2 separate regions of the Homo sapiens genome follow, and region 1 is linked to region 2. The links are contacts of gene promoters, found by promoter capture Hi-C in blood cells and fetal thymus (Javierre and others, 2016). All regions are on one chromosome and are shown on one strand. Each heading gives the region's core, a stretch centred on a gene start or on the middle of the fragment in contact. The rest is flanking DNA. Distances are from core to core; before and after follow the strand shown. Region 1 overlaps CHD1 (chromodomain helicase DNA binding protein 1). Region 2 holds the start of ERAP1 (endoplasmic reticulum aminopeptidase 1).

Region 1 (5,624 bases), core at 2,385-4,884, 2.1 Mb after region 2:
ACGTAGTAGTTGCTCAATCATCTAAATAACTATCTGAAAACAAACACTTGTATTTCTGAAAGCAACAACAGTGGAACTGAGAAATAGCTATTTGGAGTCATTCTCATTAAGAAAAGAGTACCCCGCTATTCTTGTGCCTTATGCCTCAGTTCTGAGAGATACTGTAGACACTGAATTCCAGAAGTCAGTACTGTTTGAATAGAACTTTGCACATCTCCAGCTTTGTCTCTACATATTTTAATCTCAATAACTTAGATCTCAATCTATCTACACCAAAGAAACTTCTGAGTGCAATTTAACATTTAAAGTTGACTTCTGACTCAACAGTCACCTCATACCATAGTGATACATAATATATTTTCAATCATAAACACTAATTTTCTCAGTCATATATACAAGTTGATTCTGGTACAAGATTCCTGGAATCTCTCCCTAAAACTAGTGGTTCCAACCCATTCACGTGGGGAATACAGTCCCCATTGGCAGTGTTTTTTCTGCTATGCTTCCTTTTTTTTCCTTCCTTCACCTGGAACTAAGTCACAGAAAAACTTTTTTTTTTTTTTTGAGATGGAGTCTCGCTCTGTCGCCCAGGCTGGAGTGCCGTGGCACGATCTCGGCTCACTGCAAGCTCTGCCTCCTGGGTTCATGCCATTCTCCCGCCTCAGCCTCCCGAGTAGCTGGGACCACAGGTGCCCGCCAACACGCCCAGCTAATTTTTTTGTATTTTTAGTAGAGACGGGGTTTTCACCATATTAGCCAGGATGGTCTCGATCTCCTGACCTTGTGATCCACCCGACTCGGCCTCCCAAAAGTGCTGGGATTACAGATGTGAGCCACCGCGCCTGGCCAAAAACTTTTAACAATGAATAAACCTCAGGTAAAGAACTGCAAAGCTAGATGTCAAATACATTCTCCTTATTAGGGGACTTGCATACTTCTTTAATGGGGGACTATGACTTCCATAAACATCTTCCTGAGCCGGGCGCGGGAGCTCACACCTGTAATCCCAGCACTTAGGGAGGCCAAGGCGGGCGGATCACGAGGTCAGGAGATCGAGACTATCCTGGCCAACATGGTGAAACCCCGTCTGTACGAAAAATACAAAAATTAGCTGGGCATGGTGACGCGTGCCTGTAATCACAGCTACTTGAGAGGCTGAGGCAGGAGAATCACTTGTTGGAGGATGCAGTGAGCCAAGATCACACCACAGCACTCCAGCCTGGCAACATAGCAAGACTCTTCAAAAAAAAAAAAAAACAAAAAAAAAAACTTCCTCTCCAACACCCTTCTGAATATATATCATTTGTTCTTTCTTTTCAAACTACATTTCTCATCATTATGAAAATTACAAAAGTTAAAGCATGCTATGAAAACTTTCCAAATAGCTCATTAAATGACTCTAGTAATCTACCCTCCATTTTCTTTTTACCTCACTTGCATGCCCATTTGGCCCCACAAATTTGAATATACTCAATTGCATATTTAAACTGGCTATTCCATTATCACCCCTAGATTATAATAATCTTTCTTGAAGTTAATGTATAACTTTACAACATGGCAAGATGCTGAATGACTACAGGTGAATAGCTTCATATACATGCATATGAATTTAACATGAATACAATTCTCCTGGGAATCTTATTAAAATGGAAATTCTGGCTCAGTAGATCTGGGACCTTTTAAGATGAAGGAATTGTTCTGTACATTACTGGAGTACAGAAAAAATGATTCTATGCACTTGTCAAAACCCAAAGAACTGTGCATCATTGAATAAGCATTAATATATGCAAATTTTAAAAATCAACCAGTATGATGATGATCACAGGATGGAATGCAGATTGTGACAAATGAATCTAATTTTATTATAAATTTATCACATAATTACACTCAAAGGGGTGAGAGAAAAATGAACTTGACCAACATCAGAAAACAGTGTTTTGACTAGAAACTTAAAGGCTAAATATTAAAGTGTACTGTATGTAAACACCGTATTTTAGTTGCGAAATTAGTTTCTCTTGATAAAGTATATCCTAAAAATTCTAAAACTGCTTTACATGTATATTATGAGTGAATATATAAGCAGATAAATGGTGGATGGTCAGAGCCAGGTTTCTCAATGTTGAGTAAGGAAGTTACAAAGCAATAAGAAAGAAAGGTTAGAATGAACCCTATAGCACAGGATTAGAGTTGGAGCCATCGGTATGAACTCACGTTTATGTATGAGATAATATGTATACAGACGTAAGGATACAGAAATGACTATAGATACGTAGGTATACATAATATATCTACATATATTACCTAGCTCTGTCTACTTTGTTCACTGAGAGGAAATAAAAGCAGTGACACTTGAATATCAACAAGCACACCCAGTACCCAAATCTTGGTTTCTAATGCCATTCTCCAAAAAAATGGAACCAAGGCTCCTTGGAGAGTGGCTGATTCTAGGGTAAAAGTAAGGCAGTGTGTAAAAGAAACATACGAGCCAACCTAAAAAAGCTTCCAAGAGCCAAGGCTAGATCAATTTAAGTAACAAAAAAGTCAACTATTATACAATAGATACATAAAATACCTATTATACATAAATATATACAAATATATATTTTATAGAGTTGTAATCCACTAAGCTGGATTACAACTCAAAGCACATACATAAATCCATACATATATAAACGATTTAGAAATTTCCTTACAGAAATTCCATTTAATATATGTAAATACTCCCCCCACCAGGAGATGGAATTTAATTCCTATCCCAACCCTCTTGAAAGTAGGCTAGACAAAATGACTTGCTTCCAAAGAATATATTATGGAAAGGGAAAAACAGTAACTTTACAGTAGAGAAACTTGCAAATACTACCTTGACCAAGTGAGAGGTTAACACCACCAGTAATGTCATGAGGATAACATGTTTCCCATATGATGTGACTAGCACACTTTATCTTTGTGGTATTCTTTCTAAAAACCAATAACCCTAGTTTATCCTAAGAACAATAGACAAGGCCAGGTGTGGTGGCTCACACACCTGTAATCCCAACACTCTGGGAGGCCAAGGTGGGTGGATTACCTGAGGTCAAGAGTTCAAGATCAGCCTGACCAACACAGAGAAACCCTGTCTCTACTAAAAATACAAAAATTAGCCAGGCATGGTGGTGCACACCTGTAGTCCCAGTCACTCGGGAGGCTGTGGCAGGAGAATCGTTTGAACCCAGGAGGCGGAGGTTGCAGTGAGGTGAGATCGTGCCATTGCACTCCAGCCTGGGCAACAGAGCAAGACGCCGTCTCAAAAAAAAAAAAAAAAAGACAAATCTAGATTTCAAAAACATTCTACAGGATACCTGGCCAGTATTTCTCAAGATGGTTTAGACCATGAAAACTAAGGAAAGACTTAGAAACTCTCACAGATGAAAGGAGACTGGGGAGACGTGACAACTAAATGCAATGTGGCACTCTGGATTTAATCCTACAACAGAAAAGAGGGAGTTAATGGAAAAATCAATGAAATCCAAGTATAGAGTTTAGGTAATAGTTTTTTAAAAAAGAATAAAAAAATAAATAAAATGGCTATAAATCTTGTTTCCCCATCTGGAAAGTGGGAATCATAACAATGTATACATCACAGAAGTTTTGTGAGGATGAACTGTGACAATTCAAGTAATGCACAATGCCCTATGTGCATCATGCTAGGTTAAGGCACAGCAAGAGCTCAACAATCATCAGTTGCCATTGTTACTGCTTCCGGAGAAACGAAACTTACCTAGCCTCTTGCTAGTCCTGCTCAAGACACAATTAATTGGAGGTTCGCAGAGAATGAAAACCATGTATAACAACATCAATAACAAAGTGGCAAGATGCTATGACTCCAGATGAATAGCTTCATATAAATGTATATGAACTTAATACATAAGAATCACTTAGAATCTTGTTAAAATGAAGATTCTGATTCAGTACGTCTGGGGCGAGGCACAAGGTTCTACAGTTATAATAAGCTCCCAAATGATGCCAACACCGCTGGTCCACGGACCACAACTGGTGCAACTTTTCTATTTCTGTAGTTTTAAATATTTCCCATTTTAAAAAAAGGTTAAACATTTTCTCCATTCATCATAAAGTAATACTCATTTTAAAACACAAAACTGCACCATATATAACCAATCAGTCATCAAGATCTTAAACAAGCAGCTACTTAAGCAGAGTAAAAGGGGTAACATCACATTAATGTTTGCCCACACATTATGACTACATACAGAAAAGTAATCTTTGAAAGGTAACTCATACACCATTCTGATCTTTAACCATATAGCCATTCCTGAAGTAAATCATCACTCAAGATAACTTATTTAAAACTAAAAAAAGTCAGCCAGGCGCAGTGGCTCATGCCTGTAATCCCAGCACTTTGGGAGGCCGAGGTGGGTGGATCACAAGGTCAGGAGTTCAAGACCACCAGCCTGGCCAACATGGTGAAATCCCATCTTTACTAAAAATACAAAAATTAGCGGGGCATGGTGGCGGGCACCTATAATCCCAGCTACTCAGGAGGCAGAGGCAGAAAACTGCCAGAACACAGGAGACGGAGGCTGCAGTGAGCCAAGATCGTGCTACTGCACTCCAGCCTGGGCAACAGTGAGACTCCATCTCAATTAAAAAAAAACAAACCACACACACACTAAAAAAAAGTCTACCAGGATTTGAAAAATTTGCTTGCAAATACCACCACAAATCCACACAGCTGCAAATTGATGCTTTGAAATCTTCCAGCATTATCTTTAAAAAGCTTAACTTCAGTTACATAAAACTTTGTGTTGAGCTGTAACTGTTATACAGGTGCATCCTGGCCCACATTTCTTAGTAACTAAATTTCAAGACTGTCAGCAATAGCATAGCAAAAGAGACATATTTTTCCTGTGTATTCTTCTTCCTTTCAGTGAATAGTTATAGAGAGATCTCCAGACAGAAAGAATAGTTAAAAATTTTTTTTTTCAGTAGAAAGCTAACTGTAACCTGCAAATGCCAAATGAATTCTTTCTTAATTCTATTCCGTTTAATAAACTTTCACAAAAGAAAAAGGAAATTTTGAAGCAAAAATACATTATAGAATTCTAGCCACTAAAAAACCAAAATTTACTTTAAAAAGCTACTTACAATGAATATCAACTTTAGAAACAAAGTATATTTCTAATCTAATTATATTAGGGGCCAGGCACGGTGGCTCATGCCTGTAATCCCCAGTGCTTTGGGAGGCCAAGGCGGGCAGATCACCTGAGGTCAGGAGTTCGAGACCAGCCTGGCCAACATGACGAAACACCGTCTCTGCTAAAAATACAAAAATTAGCTGGATGCAGTGGTGCATGCCTGTAGTCCCAGCTACTCGGGAGGCTGAGGCAGGAAAATTGCTTGAACTCGGTAGGCGGAGGATGCAGTGAGCCGAGGTCATACCGCTGCACTGCAGCCTGGGCGACAGAGCAAGACTCTGGCTCAAAAAAAAGAAAAAAAATTACTCTATATTAATATTCATAGTTATAGAAACTTTAGTTTTTTTTGCAAGAAAATCCCTCTACCTCTAAAGTTCACCTCCTCAGTCTTTTAACTAGGCACAATCTCCCTTCTTTGTAATGTCTTATGAC
Region 2 (5,756 bases), core at 1-2,500:
TCTTGGCTCACTGCAACCTCTGCCTCCCTTCCTTTTATTGGGGCACTATAGTATATGAAATAGATCATCAAGAAGTAATTGAGGTTCTTCCAGAATTTCCTGAACAATGAAATTAACAAGCACTGTTGGTAAATAATAAAAATGCTGGATTAATTTGAAAAAAAAAAAAGTACTAGAATGTTTCTATTCAGGCCGCACCTGAAAATGTGCTACTTATACTAATTAAAAATCCTCAGGCAAGAGACAACTGTGCCCAATTTTCAAGTTTTTTGTTTTGTTTTGTTTTGTTTTGTTGTTTTGTTAATTGTTGACCACGTCCTGAGTTCAGAGCGAATCCTCTGGGTGTTTAATAGGAAACAGATAATTTCTTTCTGAACCTAGCCTACACAAAGAAATCCAAAAGCGTGAGGAAGTGTGTGCTCTCCCCCTTCCCCTCATGGAATTAACTTTGTAGGACCACCTGGCCAGTGAGGCACCCAGATAGGAAACTTTTAATTTGCGTCAACAGAGGTGCTTTATCTGAATAAAACCCAGCCAGAGCCAGAGCGAAGGGGAGAGAGAGAATTGCTGACCAGAAGAACAGGAGAAGCAGGGAGGGAAGTGACCTTAAGAACACACACGGCCCGCGCATCCCACCCCACCAGAGTCTTTAACCCAAAGCCTCTGGGTTTCTCTAGCAGCTATGGGCAGGTGCCCTCCTCAGCCCGAGCCAGCTGCCCGCCCCACCCCGCCTTTTGGCCTCGCGCGGGCGTCGGTGGCCTGCAGGACTGGCAGGCATCCAGGCGCCAGGCGGAGCGCTGAGGGAGGCTCCCGCCGGCCGAACAGCGGGGAGACCCGTGAAGCAGGCGCACCGGCCACGCGCCCGGAGGGACAGGGACAGGGACCGGCAGGGGTGGGCCCGCCGCCAACCCGCCGGGCACCCCGCGGACTCGGGCCTAGCCAGCGACTCCCCCCGCCCTTCCCGCGCCCTGTCTCGCGCCCCGTCGCCTTCCTCCCGCGCCCCGTCGCCTTCCTCCCGCGCCCCGTCTCCCTCCTCCCGTGCCCCGTCTCCCTCCTCCCGTGCCCCAGGCCCTCAGCCCCCCACTTGACGGGCGCAGGGAAGGGGCGGGTGCCGCGCTCTCCTCCCGGCCCGCAGTCCCCTACCCGCGGCTCGAGCGCGCTGTACCTGGGGTTCTGGGGCCGCCCTCACCCTTGCGCCGCCGCCACCACCACTGCCGCCGGCCTAGCTCCCCCAGGACCGAAAGTGAAAGTGGAGCCCGGGGAGCGGCAGGCTGGCGCTGAGCGGCGCTTCGGCCCGAGCCCTAGCGGCAGGCGGGGAAGCCCCTGGCTAAGGCGGGAGCTGGGGAAAGGGTAAACGGGAGTGGGGCCGAGCGAGGGAAGCCGCAACTCCCAGGAAGGGAATTGGTAAATGAGCGCTGCACGCCGGGGAAGCTGCGAGGTTGCGATGCGGGGGATCAGGCGTAGGAAGTGCACGCCTTTCTGAACGCGGATCCGTGTGTGTGTGTGTGTGTGTGTGTGTGTGTGTGTGTGTGTGTGTGTGTGTGTGTGTGTGTGTGTGTGTGTGTGTTGAGATGCTTTTTGTTTTTGTCTTTTTTTTTTTTTCACTGTTTAGCGTTGCGAGGGTTAGGGGCATGCAGGAAAGGGCCGGTGCTCAAGTTGGGGACCGAAGCCAGGCAGGCGCTGACAAGTCCACCAAGCCTAGACGCGTTCGACGCCCATTGGACTCGCTGGGTGTCCGTCATCTCGCCACTGCCAGTGGGCTGAGAGCTCTTGGCCCGCCTCGGAAAGAAACATGAACCCAGTACTCTGTCGTGGCAAAGTGCCGCACCTTCTGGGGCTTCGGTAGAGAATGACTACAGTGGGAGATGCTGTAGAGGAGGAAGGTGGGTTAGAGGTGGCCCCCAGGACTTTCCTGCACTACCAAGGGCCACTGTACCCCAAGGATTAGCTGCTTCCCGCATCAACACGTTCCCTCTGATTTTTCAAAGTAAATGACCATTTCTTCACTCCCCTTAGAACAATTAAAGCTGAATAAAATGGCCAAAAAGACCATCTTTAAACAGTTGAGGCTAAATGAGGTAACAAGTCAAGAAAACACAAACATTAAAACACCAAATGCTACAAGTTTATTACCGAAAATGGGTCCCGATCCAGACCCCAAGAGAGGGTTCTTGGATTTTGCGCAAGAAAGAATTTGAGGGGAGTCCATGGAGTAAAGTGAAAGCAAGTAATTAAGAAACTAAAGGAATAAAAGAATGGCTACTCATAGGCAGAGCACCCCCAAGGGCTGTTGGTTGTCCATTTTTAGGGTTATTTCTTGATTATATGCTAAGCGGGGGAAATTATTCATGCCTCCCCTTTTTAGACCATATAGGGTAGCTTCCCGACGTTGCAGTGGCATTTGTAAACTGTCATGGAGCTGGTGAGACCGTAGCAGTGACGACCAGAGGACACTCTCATTGCCATCCTGGTTTTGGTGGGTTTTGGCCAGCTTCCTTACTGCAACCTGTTTTATCAGCAAGGTCTTTATGACCTGTGTCTTGTGCCTACCTTCTATCTCATTCTGTGACTTAGAATGTCTAACCTCCTGGGAGTGTAGCCCAGTAGGTCTCAGCCTTATTTTACCCAGCTCCTATTCAAGATGGAGTTGCTCTGGTTCAAACGTCTCTGATAATTTGGTGAGTGGACCATGGTCCTAGTGGGAACAGGACCCTTTTCATGCGGTTCTCAGACTTTCTTCTCCCACTTCTTTATTGGCCTTCTTCCCTTTGAGAACTGGGGATTCCAAGTCACTGCAACAGTATTTCTCTTTTTTTTTCAATATTATGTTTCCTTTTTAAAAATATAATGTTTCATACTGCCTATTATCTCTAGTCAAGGACATTTTATAATATAAAGATTAACACCCTGTTCCAAGACTCAACTACGGTGGGATCCAGGGAAGTTTTTTTCACTAAAATTCAACAAGAAATGAGGACTTTGAGATCTGGTAATTTCTGCATGTTCAGAATTTGACAGGAGGTATCAATGGATAGCGTGTAGCCTCCAAGACCTCCAGACATCTCGGAGTGCTCCCAGTTTACTCAAGATGAGACCTCTTTGTCCAGTAAATGTATGCATTTCTTTGCTTTTATATTTATATTTTTGAATATGATGGTTTTCCTTTGGCTTCTAGTAAAGTTTTTTTGTTTTTGTTTTTGTTTTTTGTTTATGTGTCTTTTTAAATACATATTGAAAGTCCAGCTGGCAGAACTGAATGCACCCAACAGGCTGGAGGTTAATACAGAAGACAGCTGAGGAGACAAACAGGGCAATGCCCTGAATGGATGTGGGCAGAAAGGAGCTGAAGTGTAGGCGAGGAGAGAGCTGACACCACCACCCGCTCCACGCCGTTTCCCCAAAAGCTCACCCTGACTCAGACTTTAGCCTGTCGCCCTGGCCGTGATTTCGTCTTTAGAGTTGAAGTGCACTACAAAGAGCGATAAGTCAGAGGATTTGGCAGCATTCACTTCTAGTTTCAAAGCCCTAGCAGGGATGTAGAGGACACAGACCTTGGAGTAAGGACTTTAAGGAGTCCTAGTTCTAGAGCCTGTGAGATCAAAACAGCACATTACCGAGCTTAGAAATGGTTAGAAGGAAGGGAACAGAGAGAAAGGGTACCTAGGTTTATTGATTCCCTACCAACTGTTAGATACTGTTAAATGCTAGCTATGTGTGCATGTGTGTGTTTATAATTTGATCTCTTCAGCAACCCTGTAATGTAGATATTATGCTTTATAGATGAGAAAAATGAGACAGGTCGGCAACTTGCTCAGAGTCAAAGAGAAAACACACACTAATTCTACTCACATTGCATTGGCCAGAACAAGGAGGGGTTGGTAAACACTAATATTGTATACCATATAGTGTAGGAGGGCTGGTTGGCCGGTTGAGCCCATCCATTGCAGAGGCTTCTCAGTGTCCTTAGTCCCAGAGGTGAGCCAGAGGAATGAGGAGAATTTCAGGCCTAGGCCAATGAAATACATACCACTTTGAGCTATTACTGATCTACTTAAAAAATATTGAATTCTAGATATTGTCAAGTGATGTTCAATTTTGCTGTAATTGATTGATTCAGTTCTGCTTTCATTAGCTTTTAGTCAATTAATGTCAGCGTTTGGCTCATTTCTTCTGTTTTGCTGCCAAAGCTGCTCCTATTTTAATCATATTACCACTCTCCTTTTTGATGTAAAATCTCATCCAGAATCATGGTGTAGAAAACAGACAAAAGCAGGCCTGCTCTTATTAAACAGGGCAGCTCCACCCAGTCAGCCTTGCCCACTGCTATCCGGCCCTTCCACACACATTGTGGTCCTTGAGACTCTTCCATAGGCTCCCAGGGCCTTAGAACTTAATTTTTTTAAATGCCAATTTAAAAAAAAATAATAATGCCCCTCATTCTTGATATTCTTGATAAAGAGGATGACTTTTTTCCCCCTCTGTGCCAAGTTGCAGAGCAGGCTTGCTTAACAAAAGCAATACCATCTTATTAATAATCAGAAACAGGGAAGACGGTACAGATGCCATGTTAAAGACTGTTCCAAAACAGGCCACTGAGCTCATATCAAATAATAAAGTCCTCTGAAATGTGGCAGCTTGAAAGCATTTACATATAGTCTATCTCATGGGATCCTCACATTGTACTTATGCAGGTGGCTAGTAGCTCCATTTTTCTAGAATGAGGAAACAGGATTAGAGATGTGAAGTGACCTACCAGGGGCCACCACATGGAAAAAGCCTGCTTTAAAGTGAAGCCAGTTCAAAGGACAGCAGGGCTGACAGAGACAGAGAATACCTCCACTAAAGCCCTCAGCTCCAGCTGTCCTGAGCAAATCCTGTCCTTAGACCTTCCATTCAAGAGGACCAATGCTTTCCTTTTTGATTTAGCCAGTTGGAGTCAGTCTTCAGAGAGAGTCCTGTATTACCATACAACAGAGCACTATGGGAGCGAGCAATGTATGCCAGATTCTGTAGGAACAACTCAAGCAAGTTGAGTGACCACAGCTGCCCTTGAACTTCTAGAATTGTGGATCCTGAAGAACATTCTAGGTGCCACGAGGACTGATCACATGTTTCCCATTTTCCCTCCCTCAGGCATTTATTTCACAAGATACTGCTGTCTAAGGTAACCTGAGCATGTTTCCAGTTCTTGCAGCCTTACAGAACCCAGGGAATCCACCTGTCTCCAACCTTCCTCAGTAGGTGACAGGCCCATCTAACTGCTCTCTAGCCAGTCTTCTGTATTCCTGTTGCTTTTACCTTTGCTCGTGTCAACAAGGAGGTAAGTCACCATGACATATTTCTTAAATTTGTATTTCTTTCATCACTAATGAGACTGAATATATGCACTGAACATATGTTAATTAGCCGTTTTTGCTTTGTGTTTTCTCTTTTGAGAATTATATGTTTATGTTTCTTGTCCATTTATCTACTGGAGAATCACAATTCAGTTATATAAAAATTATCTATGACACACAAGAGAAAGCAATGAAATTTCTTTAAAATGCAAAGTGTCATAGTCAGTAAAGCTCTACTATTTCAAAGAAAACCCACAAATGTGTCTGGATAAATCATGTCAATTTCTTAAAAACCCAGATCTATACCCGTTATGGTGAGTTGTTTGAAATATCAGAATTTACTAGATATTGTCAATATGAACAGATTAAAGCAAACCTTTGTTTAGGAGGCTTTATTTTATTTATGGCTCCCTCTGCCAC

What was found. The method cuts DNA at HindIII sites, captures the fragments that hold promoters and counts their contacts. A CHiCAGO score of 5 or more calls a contact.
Region 1: a fragment that was not itself captured here is called in contact with the fragment with the promoter of ERAP1 in region 2 in 1 of 17 cell types (fetal thymus); the score reaches 5.1 in fetal thymus.

What each region holds. Positions count from the first base shown.
Region 1 is chr5:98,917,512-98,923,135 of GRCh38, forward strand. All of the region lies in intron 2 of CHD1 (chromodomain helicase DNA binding protein 1), which reads right to left. Among named protein-coding and RNA genes, the nearest start is that of CHD1-DT, 8.2 kb to the right of the region's middle. The HindIII fragment of the contact is 2,275 bases long and covers 2,498-4,772 here.
Region 2 is chr5:96,806,695-96,812,450 of GRCh38, forward strand. ERAP1 (endoplasmic reticulum aminopeptidase 1) reads right to left here and starts at 1,251. Exons shown (of 19, transcript NM_001040458.3): 1 at 1,166-1,251. LOC124901033 (a long non-coding RNA gene) reads left to right here and starts at 764. Exons shown (of 3, transcript XR_007058879.1): 1 at 764-1,883; 2 at 5,134-5,320. RefSeq lists a silencer at 672-1,131 and enhancers at 704-1,205, 1,206-1,705, 1,862-1,931. The HindIII fragment of the contact is 13,314 bases long and covers 1-5,756 here.